Linked DNA regions of Homo sapiens: all the other regions are linked to region 3. The links are contacts of gene promoters, found by promoter capture Hi-C in human tissues and cell types (Jung and others, 2019). All regions are on one chromosome and are shown on one strand. The core of a region is centred on a gene start or on the middle of the fragment in contact, and the rest is flanking DNA. Distances in the headings are between cores, read along the strand shown.

Region 1 (4,521 bases), core at 893-3,392, 65 kb before region 3:
GAAAATGAGCAAAAAACCAGTGCAAAACACTAAAATTTCCAGGAGACAGAATGTCTCTTCTCCTCCAAATGATTGCAGTACCTTTCCAGGAAGGGTGCAGAACTGGATGGAAAATGAGATGGATGAATTGACGAAGTAGTCTTCAGAAGGTGGGTAATAACAAACTCCGTTGAGCTAAAGGAGCATGTTCTAACCCAAAGTAAAGAAGCTAAGAACCTGGATAAAAAGTTACTGTAGCTGCTTACTAAAATAACCAGTTTAGAGAGGAACAAAAATGACAAGATGGAGCTGAAAAACACAGCATGAGAACTTCCTGAAGCACACACAGGTATCAATAGCTGAATTGATCAAACAGAAGAAAGGACATCAGAGAATGAAGATCAACTTACTGAAATAAGGCATGTAGACAAGATTAGATATCAAGCAGACAAAAGGATATCAGAGTTTGAAGGCCATCCTGCTGACATAAAGCATGCAGACAAGATTAGAGAAAAAAGAATAAAAAGAAGCAAACAAAACCTGTGAGAAATATGGGATAATGCATAAACACAAGACATTCAGAATGGCACCAAGTTGGAAAACACACTTCAGGATATCATCCGGGAGAACTTACCCCAACCTAGAAAGACAGGCCAACATTCAAATTCAGGAAATGCAGACAACACCACTGAGATATTTCATGAGTAGATCAACCCCAAGATGCATAATCAACAGATTCTCCAAGGTTGAAATGAAGGAAAAACTATTAAGGGCAGCCAGAGAGAAAGTTCAGGTCACCTACAAAGGGAAGCCCATTAGACTAACAGCAGATATCTCAGCAGAAACCCTACAAGCTAGAAGAGAGTGGGGCAACTATTCAACATACTTAAAGAAAAGAATTTTCAACCCAGAATTTCATACCCAGGCAAACTAAGCTTCATAAGTGAAGGAGAAAGAAAATGCTTTCCACACAAGGAAATGATAAGGAACTTCATCACCACCAGGCCTGCCTTTCAAGAGGTCCCAAAGGAACCACTAAATATGAAAAGGAAAATCTGGTACCAGCCACTGAAGTAACACAGCAAAATATGATGACCAATGATAGTATGAAGAAACTGCATCAACTAGTGTGCAAAATAACCAGCTAGCATCATGATGACGGGATCAAAATCACACATAACAATTTTAGCCTTAAATGTAAATGGGTGAAATCCCCAATTAAAAGACACAGACTGGCAAATTGGATAAAATATGAAGACCCATCAGTGTGCTATATTTAGGAGATCCATCTCATGCGCAAAGACACACAGAGGCTAAAATAAAGCGATAGAGGAGAGTTTACCAAGCAAATGGAAAGCAAAGGAAAGCAGAAGTTGCAATCCTACTCTCTGATAAAGCAGACTTTAAAGCAACAGAGGTCAAAAAAGTAAAACAAGGGCATTAAATGACGGTAAAGGGATCAATTCAACAAGAGAAACTAACTATTCTAAATACAGATGCACCAAATACAGTAGCATCCAGATTCATAAAGCCAGTTATAAGAGACCTACAAGGAAACTTAGACTCCCACACAATAATAGTGGGAGACTTTAACCCCCAACTGTCAATATGAAACAGACCAACAATACAGAAATTTAACACGGATATTCAGGATTTGAACTCTGCTCTGGATCAAGTGGACCTAACAGACGTCTACAGAACTCTCCACCCCAAATCAAAAGAATATACACTATTCTCAGTGCCACGTGGGGCTTATTCTAAAATCAACCATAATTGGAAGTGAAACACTCCTCTGCAAATGCAAAGGAATGGAAATTATAACAAACAAGGGCAACTGTTATAAGTGCCCTTGTCAATGCAATCAAATTAGAACTCAGGATTCAGAAGCTCACTCAAACCGCACAGTTTCATGGATATTGAACAACCCGCCCCTCCTTGACTCCTAGCTAAATAACAAAAGTAATGCAGAAATCAAGAAATTCTTTGTAACCAATGAGAACAAAGAGACAACTTGTCAGAATCACTGGGACATAGCTAAAGTATTGTTAAAAGGGAAATTTATAGCACGAAGTGCCAACATCAGAAAGCTGGAAAGATCTCAAATCAACACCCTGACATCAGAATTAAAAGAACTAGAGAAGAAAGAGCAAACAAATCCAAAAGTTAGCAAAAGACAAGAAATAACTAAGATCAGAGCAGAATTGAAGGAGATAGAGACACAAAAATCCCTTCAAAAAAATCAATGAATCCAGGAGCTAGTTTTTTTGAAAAAAATAACAAAATAGATAGACCACAGGCTAGACTATTGAAGAAAGGAGAGAAGAATCAAATAGACACAATAAAAAATGATAAAGAGGATATCACCAATGGCCCCACAGATATACAAATTACCATCAGAGAATACTATAAACACTTCTATGTAAATAAACTAGAAAACCTAGAAGCAATGGATAAATCCCTGGACACATACATTCTCCCAAGACTAAACCAGGAAGGAGTCAAATCCCTGATTAAACCAATAACAAGTTCTGAAATGGAGGCAGTAATTAATAGCCTACCAACAAAAAAAGCCCAGGACCAGATGTATTCACAGCCAAATTCTACCAGAAGTATAAAGAGAGGTTGGCACTATTTATTCTGAAACTATTCCAAATAATTGAAAATGAGGGGCTCCTCCCTAACTGATTTTATGAGGTCAGCATCATCTTGCTAACACAACATGGCAGAGACAAAACAAAAAAAAGAAAACTTCAAGCCAATATCTCAGATGAACATTGATGTCAAAATCCTCAATAAAATACTAGCAAACTAAATCCAGCAGCACATCAAAAAGCTTATACACCCCAATCGAGCTGGCTTCATCTCTGGGATGCAAGGCTGGTTCAATATATGCAAATCAATAAATGTAACCCATCATATAAACAGAGCCAAAGGCAAAAACCACATGATTCTTTCAATAGATGCAGAAAAGTCCTTTGATAAAATTCAACATTCCTTCATATTAAAAACTCTCAATAAACTAGGTATTGATGAAACATATCTCAAAATTATAAGTGCTATTTGTGACAAAGCCATAGGCAATATTATACTGAATCACAAAAGCTGTAAGCATTCCTGTTGAACACCGGCACAAGACAAGCATGCCCTCTCTCACCATTCCTATTCAATACAGTTTTGGAAGTTCTGGCTAGGGCAATCAGGCAATATATTTTTAAAAAGTATTCAAATAAAAAGAGAGGAAGTCAAATTGCCTTTTTGCAAGTGACATGATTCTATATTTAGACAACTCCATCATCTCAGCCCAAAAACAACTTAAGCTGACAAACAGCTTCAGTAAAATCTTAGGATACAAAATCAATGTGCAAAAATCACAAGCATTCCTATATACCAGCAATAGTCAAGCAGAGAGCCTGATCATGAATTAACTACCATTCTCAATTGCTACAAAGAGAATAAAATACCTAGGAATACAGCTAACAAGGGATGTGAAGGACCTCTCAAGGAGGACTACAAACCACGGCTCAAGGAAATAAGAGCGGACACAAAGAAATGGAAAAACATTCCATTCTTATGGATAGGAAGAATCAATATCATGTAAATGGCCATACTGCCCAAAGTAATTTATAGATTTAATGTTACTCCCTTCAAACTACATTGACATTCTTCACAGAATTAGAAAATACTTCTTTAAATTTTACATGGAATCAAAAAAGAGCCTGTATAGCTAAGAAAATCCTAAACAAAAAGAACAACCTAGAGGCATCATGCTACTTGACTTCAAACTACACTACAAGGCTACGGTAACCAAAACAGCATGGTGCTGGTACCAAAACAGACATATAGGCCAATAGAACAAAAGAGAAAATTCAGAAATAACACCGTATATCTACAGTCATCTAATTTTTGACAAATCTGACAAAAATAAGCAATGGGGAAATTATTCCCTTTTTAATAAATATTGCTGGGAAAACAGGCTAACCATATGCAGAAAACTGAAACTAGATCCCCCTCCTTACACATTATACAAAAATTAAGATAGATTGAAGACTTAAATATAAAACCCAAAAACATAAAATCACTAGAAGAAAACATAAGCAATACCATTCAGGACATAGTCATGGGAAAACACTTCATCACAAAAACACCAAAAGCAATTGCAACAAACCCAAAATTGACAAATCGGATCTAATTAAACTGAAGAGCTTCTGCACAGCCAAATAAACTAGCATCAGAGTGAAGAGGCAACCTACAGAATGGGAGAAAAATTTGCAGTCTACCCATCTCTCACAGTTCTAATATCCAGAATCTATAAGGAATATAAATGTACAAGTCAAAACCAAACAACTTCATCAAAAAGTGGGCAAAGCATATGAACAGACACTTCTCAAAAGAAGACATTTATGCAGGCAACAAACATATGAAAAAGAGCTCATCATCAGTGATTATTAGAGAAATGCAAATCACAACGAGACACCATCTCACGTCAGTCAGAATGGCGATTATTAAAAAGTCAAGAAATGTAATAAAGGAAGGTAACAACCC
Region 2 (4,549 bases), core at 1-2,500, 82 kb after region 3:
AAATCACCTTTGGCAAGGGAATACAGATTTCAGTATTTCCTAAGGGTGAATATATGTAGTGAACTAATTTAGCATCCAAGTTTTGGTAAAAGCAAAACGACTGTGATTGGGAAGATGAACAGATATGTCCCTGGCTAAGGATAGCAAGTGCAATGAATTAGTAAAGACAAAATCCAGAATTCTGATCATTGACAATCCCTGAACTGAATAAATATGACTTAATTACCTGAAATAAGTTTTTAATTTTCTGTAATTGTATCATGATAATAATAATATATTTCATTTATTGAACATTTCTACATGCTAGTGAATATGCTCGGCATTTTACATGCATTTACATGCGTGTTATTTAATCTTTTAATTAGCTGTTTGTTCTGTGAACTTCTACATTAATATAGCAATGTAAACAATGCTAACGGTTTTAAATACCATATTTATATTAACTGTCATGAGGTAGCAGAGTGAAAGAACTTTGATGTTCACATCATAGATTTGTGGTTCTTAAAGGTTGAGGAACATCTGAATCATTCAGAATACTTATGGATTACACTTTGAGAAATACTGCCTTTTATAAAAAAATCTGAAGGGGAATTTCAACTATTTTGAACTGGGTCACAATGCTTTGATAGCCTATAAACTAATCAATTCCCAACTTTGCATGTTTAAATGTTTAAATGTTTTTGTGTTTTGTTTTGAATCTAGCTTCTATTCCTTACCCATTTCATGATTTTTGGATAACATGATCTTCATGTTCCTTTCCTATAAAAGATGCATAATAAAATTGCTTGCTTTGTAGCATTATTGAAAGGAATAAATAAAATACTTGTAAACCACCTGGGAGACTATCTGGCCCATAGTATATTCTCTATCCATGTTCATTGATATCATTATTGTGATTGTTCTGAAAGAAAAAAAAATCCCTCTAAGGCAGAGTAATGTTGATTCTGGTCTAAATATTATAAAAACTTATCTAAAAGAAAATAAGATAAGGACAGGGTAGCCTGTTCTTTTGGTGTTTAATAGTTCTGCCCAAAGACTATTTAGTGCTCTGGGTGAATGCTTCTGTGTTTGATTTGCCATTTACCATAAATTACGGTCCAGAATCTGTGACGTTGTTATGTCAAGCAGACATGTAAAGAATTTCTGTCCGTGCCAAGTAAGACATAAACCAGTTTTATAATAATTGGAAACAAAACAAAAATAGCGAAACTTTTTTTTCTTTTGAAATCAAATTCACAGTGTCTTTTCCAATACTACTTCTCCAACTCTCACACCAACTAAGTGTCTTACTATTTAATTTAGTCCTGACACTTACTGCAGTCTGGAGCATCAGACTCCAGATGTCGCAGAAATCAATCCCACAAGACTGCCTTCCCTTCAGACGTCAGTCTCAAGTAGGGGGTATCCAGGTTACTTCTACCTGATTTGGATACAAAGTTGGAGGTTCTCACAACCACTCTGCTTCAGGTTATATAACTGGCTAGAATGAAGCATGAAAATAAAGAAAATGCTACACTCACTATTATAGTTTATTATAAGGGATACAAATGAAGAGTCAGATGAAGAGGTACATCTGGGAAGTTCCAGAAGAATCCCAAGCCCGCGAGCTCCTGTCTGTGGAGTTGGGGTCTGCAATCCTCTGGGCAAGTAAATGTGTTTGCCAACTCAGAAGCTCCCTGAACCCTTTCATTATGGGTTTTATGGTGGTTTCATTATATAGACATTAATGTGGCTATTGGTAATTGACTCAATCTACAGCCCCCACCTCCCCAGAAGTTGGGTAATGGGGCATGAGATGAAGCGGGGACCCCTCTTAGTGACCTGCAAGTTCCTCCAAGTACAGAGATAAAGGAAAAGCTTAAGTTCCTTCAGGGAAATTCCAGGCACCTAGCTAGTACTGAGAAATAAACAAGCAACTTCATAAGTAAGAAGGTAATAATTGCCTAATGCAATAGCCAAGGAAGTTAAAAATCACAGAATGTTTAGTTCCATTATAAAAACTAAAATAACATCTTTCCATATGTTCATGAGTTGTTTTTCAGAAACCTGGAACCCCACTAAATAGATCTACTGGCACATAGACCTCAGATAAGGAGGAACTGAGGACAGAACTCAGACCACCACTTTTTCTTCTGAATTTCTTCCTGAGAGGCCTGGAGGAAGTCACACCCATGGATGAGAGCTAAAATTCTTTTCTGCTGATTCCAATTTTTTAGACAAAACTTTGCCTCGTTAACCAATCACAAATCAGAAAATGTTTGACTCTACCTAAGATGTGTGGGCCCTGACTTTGAGATGTCCCATATTTTCAGGTTAAGCCCATATATAATGTCAATATACTGATTTATGACTTTGCCTGTAACCTCTGTCTCCCTGCCTTTAAAAACTTACCTGTAAGCCATCCATCAGAGAGTTCAGATCTTAAGCATTAGCTGCCCACTTCTCCTTGCTTGGCCCCCTGTAATAAATTCCTCCTTTTCTTTTGCGGCAATCTGCATGTCGGCATTTGACTTTGCTGTATCAGGCAGGCTGACTTGAGTTTCGTTTGGTAACATCTCTGTGGACTTGGGGTGTGCCACTCTCAGGGTATGTAAATGTGTTTGCTGACACAGAAGCTCCCTGAACCCTTTCGTTTAGTATGTTTTTTAATTTCTAGTTTTTGGGGTATATGTGCAAATTTGTCATACAGGTAAATTGTAGGTCACAGAGGTTTCATGTACAGATTATTTTGTCATGCAGGTAATAAGCATAGTACCCAGTAGGTGGTTTCTCATTGTCTCTCACCTTCCACCCTCAAGTAGGCCCCGGTGTCTGTTGTTCCTGTCTGTGTGTCCATGTGTACTTAATGTTTAGCTCCCACTTATAAGTGAGAACATGCAGTATTTGGTTTGTAGTTCCTTTGTTGCTTTGCTTAGACTAATGGCCTCCACTTCTCCCATGTTGCTGCAAAGGACATAATCTCAGTCTTTTTATGGATGCATAGTATTTCGTGGTGTATATGTACTACATTTTTGTTATCCAGTCTACTATTGATGGGCATGGAGGTGGATTCCATGTCTTCACTACTGTGAATAGTGCTGGAATGAACATACATGTGCAGGTTATTTTACTATAGAACAATGTATACTCCTTTGGGTATACAAGTAATATTGAGATGGGTGGGTCGAATGGTAGTTCAGTTTTAAGTTCTTTGAGAAATCACAAAGCTGCTTTCCACAATGGTTGAACTAATCTACATTCCTACCAAGGGTGTATAAGCGTTCCCTTTTCTCTGCAACCTCACCATCATTTGTTATTTTTAGATTTTTTAATAATATCCATTCTTACTGGTATGAGATGATATCTCATTGCGGTTTTGTTGTGCATTTCTCTAACGATTAGTGATGTTGAGCACTTTTCCATATGCTTATTGGCAACATGAATGTCATCTTTTGAAAAGGGTCTATTCATGTCCTTTGCCCACTTTTTATTGGAGTTGTTTGTTTTCTGTTAATTTGATTAAATTTCTTGTAGATTCTGGATAGTAAATTTTGTTGCATGCATATTTGCAAATATTTTATCCCATTCTGTAGTTTGTGTTTTCTCCTTTAATAATTTCTTTTTTGCTGCAAGGGCTCTTTAATTTAATTAGGTTCCACTTGTTAATTTATGGTTTTTTTTTGTTGCAATCAATTTTGGCATCTTCGTTGTAAAATCTTTGCCAGGTCCTATATCCAGAATGGCATTTCCTAAATTAGTTTTCAGAGTATTTATAGTTTTATGTTTTACATTTAAGTCTTTAGTCCATCTAAAGTTGACTTTTGTATGTGATTTGAGGAAGGGTTCCAGTTACAATCTTCTGCATTTGACTAGACAGTTATCCCAGCACCATTTTTTGAACAGGAAGTCATTTCTCTATTGATTATCTTGGTAGACTTTGGTGAAAATCACATGGCTGTAGGTGTACGGCATTATTTCTGGGCTCTCCATTCTGTTCCATTGGTCTATGTGTCTGTTGTTGTACCAGTAACATGCTGTTTTGATTATTGTAGCCTTGTAGTATAGTTTGAAGTCAGGTAGTGCAATGCCTCCAGCTTTGTTCTTTTGGCTTAGGATTGCTTTGGCTATTTGGGTTGTTTTTTGATTCCATATGAATTTTAAAATTGTTTTCTCTAATTATGTGAGGAATGTCATTGGTAGTTTGACCTAGGAATACTATTGAATCTGTAAATTGCTTTGGGCAGTAGGGCCATTTTAACAATATTGATTTTTTCCTATCCATGAACATGGAAAGTTTTTCCATTTGTGTGTGTCATCTCCAATTTCTTTGATCAGTGTTTTATATCTCTCATTGTAGAGACCTTTCACTACCCTGGTTAGCTGTATTCTTGTCATGGTCCTTGTGAATGGGATTGAGTTCCTGGTTTGACTCTTACCTTAGCTGCTATTGGTGTATGGAAATGCCACTGTTTTTTGTACATTGATTTTGTATGCTGAAACTTTGCTGAAGTTTATCAGATCAGGGATATTTTGGACAAAGGCTATGGGGTTTTCCAGATATAGAATGTTA
Region 3 (4,049 bases), core at 719-3,218:
AAGCCATTCTGTATTCCAGGACTTCTTGGGCATTCAGAATAGGCTTATGGTTTTTTAAGAGTTTTATTTATTTTACCAGTCTTTCAAACAAATGTATATTGCTGCACTTTTGTCCCAGTACATCATTGTTTTACCTCTTTCGAAGTACTGGAATTTAGCTGGAAGGATGAAACATTTACTTCTAAAATAAAGAAAGGAGAGTATTTAACCAAAAATGTAGGCTTCTGTTATCTCTAGAGGCAAATAATAAATAACATACATTCAGGTTATGTGCGCACAGACATCTATTAATCTGTAATATTTTATTTATTATTTTGTTTTATTTTTATATGGTATATTTTATATTTGAGATGGGGTCTTGCTCTGTCGCTGAGGCTGGAGTGCAGTGGCGCAATCTCAGCTCACTGCAATCTCCACCTCTCAAGTTCAAGCGATTATCCTGCCTTAGCCTCCTGAGTAGGTGGGACAGGCCTGAGCCACCATGCCCTGCTAATTTTTGTATTTTCAGTTGAGATGGGGTTTCACCATATTGGCCAGGCTGGTCTCGAACTCCTGGCCTCAAGTGATCCACCTGCCTTGGCCTCCCAAAGTGCTGGGATTACAGGCGTGAGCCACTATGCCCAGCCTGTAATATTTTATTTTAAGCTGGTGATGGGTACATTGGTGTTTTATTTGTTTTATACATTGTCATCCACTGAAATATTTCTAAATATACAAATAGCTATCCTTGTAATTCAGGCTATGAACAATTTAAGAAAAACAATAACATTATCTCAGTAAAAACAGGATATCATTCAATACAATTCAGTGAACATTTATTGAAGAAAGCATTGGTAAAAGAAATACAATGGGATTTTGCTAATGTGCTGAATACACCTACCAAAACCTCAAACAAACACTATATGTCATGGTGAACTATATCGCTAAAGGCTTCAGGTACTCAAGAATATTGTTCTTCAACATTTTAAATATATATATTTTAATCAAATGATGCAAGGAAAATAGATAAAATTGGAAAGACATATAAAGTTGTTTCATCCATTGTATGTAATATTTTTCTCTTCACTAAGGAATACAAAAAAATTACCATTCTTGGATTCAAGGTCTATAAGCAACAATTAACAGATTTCTATATATTAACAAAAACAAATAGAAGATGTAATAGAAACAATAATCCATACACTAGAGCAACGAAATATAAAATACCTATAAACATTTCAATTTTATAATGACTTTGACAGAAAATATATACAGGCGTTTTAAGGGATAGAAAACATACTAAAGAACATACAAATAGAATTAGAATTATGTAGGGAACTTTAAGATGTTAAAAATGCCAATTCTACCCAAACATATCTTGCTTTGATGATGGAGCAGAAGGAAGAGTGAAGAGAAACCATGGAAGAGGAATGATATTAGCCTGGAACACCCTGACTGCCATTCTCTAGCTCTGAGACGTCAATTTACTTCTGCCCTCAGTTTCACATGTAAAACATACGACAATATAATTAAATATATTATATAATAATATATACATGTGTCTAATAGGGGTATCTGGCATACACAATGGTTGTAAGTATTATGTTAATTTACAAACCTTTTTTTTTTAAACATAGTGCCAGTTACACAGAAAGCACTTAGTGTGTTTCACCTCATCATGTGAGAGAGAGGGGGAAGTTTCAGAAAGTTCACCCTAATCTACAAGGAAGGAGGCGTAATTATCTTTGTAGTATTTTCAAGAAAAGGAAGCTAATTCGGCTTCATGTCCTAGGAGAGGAGACAGAAGGAAATACAAACTTTTAAAATTAAAGACAAGGGAATGGATTCCCCAAGGGCTGAAAATTTAAGTTTTTGTCTTTTCATTTATTTTTCAATAACCATAAAGATTCCAACTGTACGTTAGGTGCTTTTTTTTCTTATTATGGAAACATAAAACCTGTAAGATATTTATATATTTTTGCCTTTCCAGGAAACCACAATCTCACTGAAAATATACACTATTCAGGTAAGTACTAAGAGGTAAGTTAACCAAGCGCAAGCATGACTTTGTATAAGCTAGTGCTGAAATTTCTGCTGAACATGGTGATGATTGATCTCATTTCTTAAGTCATTTTTTGTGCTAAGAATTTTATAAACATTATTCTATTTTATCTGTACAATATTACTTTGAGAAATGTGGTACAATCTGAGGCAGAAGGAGTGGTTACTTGCTCCAGCTTATCAGTGTGAAAGATTGGATAAAATCCATTACTTTTGTTTTTCCATGTCCTGGTATTCCAGATTTGAAAAAGAAATTGACAGTGAATAGATGTCAGAGGAGAAGAGTAGCAGATGAGAACCATAAACAATGATTTGAAAATTTTGGCCACGTTCTCTTTTCTTTTAATAATTTTAGCTCATGCAGGATGAGAATTCCTAAACCAAAATCTAATACCCAAAGCACTCCAAAATCAGAACCTTTTCAGTGCTGACATGAGATGGTGACACTTTTGCTTCCTGATGGTTCACAAACTTTCTCCCATACACAAAATTGTTTTAAAATACTGCATAAAATTACCTTCAGGCTATTTGTATAAGGTATACATAGAACATAAATTTTTTCCTTACACTTGGTTCTATTCCAAAAAAATCTCATTATTAGCTATGCAGATATTCCAAAGTGTGAAAAAGAATCTGAAATCTGCAACACGTCTGGTCCCAAGCATTTTGGATAAGGAATCCTCAACCCGTATTAATGAATGCTTTACATTTGTCATGTATTCTTTTAAGACGTTTACACCTATTTTTAAAATATTTTATTAAACTTCAGAGTATAAAATGTTTATTTACAAAAATATGTTAGATATACATTTTGTAAAATGCTTTAAAATATTACCAGTGCCTTTGAAAAACAGTTTAACTCTCTCTGATTATATAACTTTTCAGGCCCATTTTGTAGGTAGTCATTATTCCAGTATTGCTGTGCTTCATAAGTGATTTTTAGATGTGTGTTTAAATTACTCATAATAGGATTCATGAGGGCATTCCTTGTGATCTACTTTGTTCATTCAACATTCTATTTGTGAGACTCATCAATGCTACTTCTTGTAGTTATGCTTATAAATTCCATCGTTAGTGCACATGCAGGTTGCATTTTTATATTACATATAAAGTTGCTATGCTCATTTTTGCTAATATGAGAGATTTGTTGTTTTGTGTTGTTTCCTGATCATTCCTATTACAAAAGGGTAAAGTCAGTTTAGCAACCTCAGTGGATTACACAGTGGATTACACATGCTGTCTGATACATAATGCTTTACAACTTTTTTGATCAAATTCTGGCCACTCAGTGTCTCTTTTCCATCATCTCCCTCAGTGACTTCTCAATTTCTCAACAAGATTTTCATGGTTTCTGTGTTACTATTGCTCTGGCAGGTGTAGAGTATCACAGTGTCATGAAATCTCATCATGATTTTCATAATTTCTGTGTTGGCATTGCTCAGGCATGTGCACAGTATCACAGTGTCATGAAATATGACCATGAATTTCATAACTTCTGTGTTACTATTGCTCTGGGCCTGTGCACAGTACCACAGTGTCATGAAATCTGATGATGATTTTCATGGTTTCTATGTTACTATTGCCCTGGGTATGTGCAAATGTCACAGTGTCATGAAATATGACCATGATTTTCATGACTTCTGTGTTACTATTGCTCTGGGCCTGGGCACAGCACCACAGTGTGATGAAATCTGATGAGTCGTCTTCCTGATGTGATAAGATTCATACATAAAAATAATTTTTAATATTAAATATATGCACCATCTTTTTACAAAACAATGAAGTTTATTACAAAAGAAACATAGTAGATTAGATGAAATAAATAAAAATGGAAGCACAATATTACAATTAAGAAAAAAATACTTGGCAGGCAATGTCTAATCCAGAGTTCAAAATGTTGTACCTCATTATGTGAATACTTTTGATATGCCAGTGGGTATTCTGAAAAAAATAAAATAAACAAGATGTCATAATTTCAGATCCTTTCTGAAAAAGCTGCCTTTTTTATT

The links. Contacts are between HindIII fragments. The study calls those that stand out against the background at their distance.
Region 1: a contact is called between a fragment that was not itself captured here and the fragment with the promoter of OR2M3 in region 3, in 3 of the 25 tissues and cell types used here (neural progenitor cells, pancreas and small bowel).
Region 2: a contact is called between a fragment that was not itself captured here and the fragment with the promoter of OR2M3 in region 3, in 2 of the 25 tissues and cell types used here (adrenal gland and liver).

What each region holds. Positions count from the first base shown.
Region 1 is chr1:248,129,641-248,134,161 of GRCh38, forward strand. No RefSeq gene overlaps it. Among named protein-coding and RNA genes, the nearest start is that of OR2M5, 13 kb to the right of the region's middle. The HindIII fragment of the contact is 6,525 bases long and covers 1-4,521 here.
Region 2 is chr1:248,277,974-248,282,522 of GRCh38, forward strand. It overlaps OR2T33 (olfactory receptor family 2 subfamily T member 33), which reads right to left and starts at 3. Exons shown (of 2, transcript NM_001004695.2): 1 at 1-3. The HindIII fragment of the contact is 7,061 bases long and covers 1-4,549 here.
Region 3 is chr1:248,195,297-248,199,345 of GRCh38, forward strand. OR2M3 (olfactory receptor family 2 subfamily M member 3) reads left to right here and starts at 1,969. Exons shown (of 2, transcript NM_001004689.2): 1 at 1,969-2,005. The HindIII fragment of the contact is 15,210 bases long and covers 1-4,049 here.